2 separate regions of the Homo sapiens genome follow, and region 2 is linked to region 1. The links are contacts of gene promoters, found by promoter capture Hi-C in blood cells and fetal thymus (Javierre and others, 2016). All regions are on one chromosome and are shown on one strand. Each heading gives the region's core, a stretch centred on a gene start or on the middle of the fragment in contact. The rest is flanking DNA. Distances are from core to core; before and after follow the strand shown. Region 1 holds the start of YTHDC1 (YTH N6-methyladenosine RNA binding protein C1). Region 2 overlaps ANKRD17 (ankyrin repeat domain 17).

Region 1 (2,631 bases), core at 80-2,579:
ATCAATTAGGCACACAGAAGAGATGTGTGAGACACAGAGCAGCGACCGTGTCATATTTTTAACTATAATCTTTCCAAGACTATTATGTTAATCTTAGGGTTGAAAAAGATCTTAAAGCAGCATTTAATCTAGACCACTCTCCAGAGAGACACTGATCTAGGACCTACATTAATATCTCTAGGGCTTGGGAACTTAGTATTACTATCTTTCCATTACAGCAACGTCAGTTCTCTCTACATTTCACTGAAATTTATCCCTCCAACTCTCTGTAACTTGCATTCATTTGTTTCTGACTGTACCCTCTGGGAGCTACACACGGTTTTTCTAACATAATAGCACCCAGGATTTCTTTGCCAGCCTAAGTCACACAGTCATCTTTCCAAACTAAGTATTCCTTTTTCCAAGTACTATGTTTTTCCAAAATAAGTATTCGAGGAACAAAACGGGTAATTCACTTTGCCTATTTAACAGGAACAGCCAGAAGTTATTTGCAGATATTTCTCAAGATTAATAACCTGCCAGTGCCACTTCCTAAACTTGCTCACTTACCACACCACCAGTGTTGATCGCGGCATTAGGGGTTTTCAAATTTTAGCCTAACAGAAATGGTTGTCCTGAAAATACGCGTTACATCCGCATGATCCTACCAGGAAATAAACCTAGGAGCTTGCAACTCAGAAAGGGCCCCTCTCAGCCCAAGACAGCTAAACGGAAAGTCAAGCGTGAAATCCGCATCAAAGAAAAACCCTACTGAGATGAAGTGCTAGGCCATATGGAGACTGAGGACGAAAGGGCAGGCCTGGTCTCCGCCAGAGTCTAAGTGTCTCGGTGGGGGCCACCGGCTCCTCGCGAGGCCAGCTAACCTCCCCAACCCCCACCCCCCACCCCCAACGACGACCACTGCTCCATCACCCCACTCCCGGGCCCCAGCCTCGCCTCGGCCCGTCATCTTTCTCCGCACTAACCTTTCTCCTCCCGACTGTCAGCCGCCATGGCTCCCCTTCGGTTTCCGCCGCTGCCACCGCCGCCGCCGCTTAGACGCGACTCGCGCGGGCGCCGCAGCCGCGGCAGAAGCACGGGCCCGTCCGTCAGTCCGTCTGCCCGGATACGCGCGTCGCACTTGGCCTCTTAACACTCAGCCTTCTCGACTCTTCCCGCTTTTTCCCTTTCTCCCTTCCTTTCACTCCAGCATCCAGCGGCCTAGGCCCAGCCTTCTCGTTAGGGCTCAGACTCGGGCTAGGTATGGGGGAGGGAAGGGAAACAGATGGCGACGGCGGGCGGCGCTAAAATGGAGCCTGCTTCCTGCGCGAAACAATCCCGCTCCCGAAATGCCCTGCGCTGTTTACGCTTCGTTCCTCTCTGGGAACGTCACAGTGCGGAGAGGGGCGGGGAGGCGGGGACGTGCAAAGGAACGTGACGTGACGTCAGCGCGTCGCCCTGCCGCCCTCAGCCCACTGGTACCTGGAAGGAGTCTTATTCAGGGATTAGGTTACCCAGGTTGTTCATGGAGTTCCCGCTGTACGGCCTATAACTGGATGGCGCAATTTTCCCACCTGAAACTCTTAGTGCAGGGCCTAACAGGCCTTCTTAGCTAGAGTCGCTCTAAAGGACTCCTGATTCAGTTCGGGTAATCGGAGTCTTATTTAGGACAAGTCTGGGTGAATCCCTTATGTTTACCAGATGTACTTTCTTAGTTGGAGTTCCACTCTTACCCAAAGGCAGTGCAGCATGCAACCAGCTTGTTTGTAGTCACAAAAGCCTGCTAGTTTTTGTTTGTTTTGAGACGGAGTCTCGCTCTGTCGCTAGGTTGGAGTGCAGCAGCGCGATCTCGGCTCACCGCAACCTCCGCCTCCCAGGTTCAAGCGATTCTCCTGGCTCTGCCTCCTGAGTAGCTGGGACTACAGGCGCCCGCCACCACGCCCAGTTAATTTTTTTATTTTTAGTAGAGACGGGATTTCACCATGTTGGCCAGGATGAAGTGCTGGGATTACAGGCGTGAGCTACCACGCCCGGCCTAGTTTTGTTTTTAATTGGGGAAAGAATTGTATCATAATAGGTCTTTGTAATTAATAACTAATTTAAACATGTTATCAAGGCCCTGGGGCACAAAATTGATTTAAGCAGACCATCGAGGAATCGAAACTACAGAATAAATGACCAGTAGATACATAACTACATAGTGTGGTAAAATCTGCAAGAGAAACTTGCTTAAGATTCATTGTCCAACGGAAACAATCTAATTTTGCTTCCTTGAACTATAACTGAGTTATAAGGGAAAGAAAAATCTGAAAAAGGTAACTAAGTAACTTCGTGATATGAAGACAAACTGGCAAACTAACTGCATATTCAGGGAAAGACAAGTAGTCTAGAAGTCTAGAATGTGGTACCTCTTTTTTTTTGAGACGTGGTCTCACTGTGACACAGGCTGGAGTGCAGTGGTGTGATCATGGCTCACTGCAACCTTGGGCTCAAGTGATCCTCCCACCTTAACCTCCCAGGTAGCTGGAACTACAGGCATGCTCCACCACATCCGACACATTTTTTGCATTTTTTGTGGAGATATACCATCTCCGCAAGATGGCTAACACCTAGCCATCTTGCCCAGGCTAGTGTCTAAATCCTGGGCTCCAG
Region 2 (2,631 bases), core at 44-2,543, 4.7 Mb after region 1:
AAAGAAACATCTATAAAAAACGTTTTGGAATAATTGAAGATATCTGAATATGGACTGATTAATTCTTACTGAATTCATGTTAACCTATTAGGTATTTGACAATGGTATCATGGTTGCATAAGAAAATATCCTTATTCTTAAGTGATGCATGTTTTTAGGTCTGAAGTGTCATATCTGCACCTTATTTACAAATGGTTCAGCAAAACAGTAGAGAGAGAAAATAAATATAACAAAATAATTGGGAAATTTAGGCGAAGGAAATATGGATATTCCTTGAACTATTCTTTAACTTTTCTATGGGTCTGAAATTTTTTGTAACAAAATAGTTACTGGAATGTGGCAACAATAAAAGCAATTGTAATGCCCTCAATGATACTCTGTATTTACAATATAGCACTATATTCAAAAGCATGTATTAAAAAACCTAACCTGGGTGGTGTGGTGGTACACGCCTGTAATTCCAGCACTTTGGGAGCTGTGCAAGGATAATTAATATTCTATATGACTGCCACTATTTGACAAACACAAGAAAAACTATGAATATATAAATTCATTGCAGGCTACAATTTACCTCATGCTTTAACTGGCAATGTACTCTGACATGTATCTCTAAAATAATTATAACTCTTTACTCTTTCATTAAGTTAATTAGGTTAACTGTTATTTATTCCAGTATTGCTAGTTAGAAGAAATTTGATAGTTAAAAAAAAAAACAAAACAAAAAAAAAAAAACCGAAGTCTTACTATAACTTCCTTAAGGGATAAGCAATTTCACATCTTTACCTGGAAAACAAACATATCCAACCTTACTACAGAATTCTCTTAGTTGAGTTGAATTCTCTATTGCTGACTGATCTTCATTAGTTTGAAAATCTAGGCCTGGTGGCTCACACCTGTAATCCCAGCAGTTTGGGAAGCCGAGGTGGGCAGATCATGAGATCAGGAGTTTGAGACCAGCCTGGCCAATGTAGTGAAACTGTCTCTACTAAAAATACAAAAATTAGCCAGGTGTGGTAGCACATGCCTGTAGTCCCATTTATTCAGGAGGCTGAGGTGGGAGAATCGCTTGAGCCATTGCACTACAGCCTGGGTGACAGAGTGAGACTCCATTTCAAATAAAAAAAAGAAAGAAAGAAAATCTAATCACTGCTTCAAAAGTCTGCCTGTAGTTAAAAAACACATGTGATAATGTGAAATCTGTTGTGTTGTTAATGCAGATGAGATTTTTTTTTTTTTTTGAGATGAAGTCTTGCTCTGTTGCCCAGGCTGGAGTGCAGTGGTGTGATCTCGGCTCACTGCAACCTCCGCCTCCTGGGTTCAAGCAATTCTCCTGCCTCAGCCTCCCAAGTAGCTGGGATCACAGGTGCACACCACAACGCCTGGCTAATTTTTGTATTTTTAGTAGAGGCAGGGTTTTGCCATGTTGGCCGAGCTGGTCTTGAACTCCTGACCTCAGGTGATCCACCCGCCTTGGCCTACCAAAGTGCTAGGATTACAGGTGTATGCCACTGTGCCCAGCCTAGATGAGATTTAAAGGTGGACTAAAAGGATGTAATTTTCACTCAAGGGTAGAAATCTTTCTCCTTGGTACCTGTATTCTCAAAACTAAAAGTAAACATAAATTAATAACAGGTACAAGGATTAATTTTTTTCCCCCAAAAAATGATCCCTCAGGACAGGTGTGGTGGCTCACACCTGTAATCCCAGCTCTTTGGAAGGCAGGAAGACTGCTTCAGCCCAGGAGTTTGACGAAACCAGCGAGGGCAACACAGTGAGAGCCTGTCTCTAATAAAAATAAAAAATAATAAAAATCCCTCTTAGAAAAACTTCAATATTTTAGGTTTGATAGAACCTAGGTTGATTCTAATCATTTAAATACCTAGAAATTTTTTTGAAATTCCAGACTTCTAAGAGTACAAATTACCTTTTTATGGTATTAAAATTATGATGAGGTTTGAAACCTGCTGTTTTTAAGAAAACATATGCAGATTCTTATGGAATTACGGTGTATAAAACTCACCATTTGATGCTGATGAACACGGAGTCAACAAACTAAGCGGGGAAAAATGTTGTCTGTTAAAGTTAGCAGCTGCGGGTGCTCCTCCAAGGGGTGCCCCAGGTCCGTACATCTGACCTCCTGAAATGTTTGAAGCAAAGTTTCCCAAATGTGTTGAAGAAGGTGTTACAGAACCATATGGCGAGTCCATATTGACAATACCTATAATGTAGAAGGTCATCATAATTTATAATAGTTACTCCTGCAAGAAATAGAGATACCTTAAAATTCTAAAAGGCCCTAAATATATTCAAAACTATTTTAGATAATTAAAAAAATCCCGGCTGGGAGTGGTGGCCCACATCTGTAATCCCAGCACTTTGGGAGGCCAAGGTGGGAGGACTGCTTATGGCCAGGCATTCAAGACTGGTCTGGGCAACACATCGAGACCCCACCTCAAAAAAAAAAAAAAAAAGTTCCTGGCTGGGTGTGGTGGTTCATGCCTATAATCCCAGGCATGAATCTCACTTTGGGGGGCCAAAGTGAGAGGACTGCTTGAACCCAGAGTTCAAGGCCAGGATAGACTGCCTCTACAAAAAATTAAAAAAAAAAAAAAATTAGCCAAGTTTGGTGGT

The links. The method cuts DNA at HindIII sites, captures the fragments that hold promoters and counts their contacts. A CHiCAGO score of 5 or more calls a contact.
Region 2: a contact is called between a fragment that was not itself captured here and the fragment with the promoter of YTHDC1 in region 1, in 1 of 17 cell types (total B cells). The highest score is 7.4, in total B cells.

What each region holds. Positions count from the first base shown.
Region 1 is chr4:68,348,761-68,351,391 of GRCh38, forward strand. YTHDC1 (YTH N6-methyladenosine RNA binding protein C1) reads right to left here and starts at 1,330. Exons shown (of 17, transcript NM_001031732.4): 1 at 966-1,330. The coding sequence starts at 993. RefSeq lists an enhancer at 699-1,278. The HindIII fragment of the contact is 7,711 bases long and covers 1-2,631 here.
Region 2 is chr4:73,083,229-73,085,859 of GRCh38, forward strand. ANKRD17 (ankyrin repeat domain 17) reads right to left here. Exons shown (of 34, transcript NM_032217.5): 30 at 2,021-2,218. Among named protein-coding and RNA genes, the nearest start is that of COX18, 15 kb to the left of the region's middle. The HindIII fragment of the contact is 7,936 bases long and covers 1-2,631 here.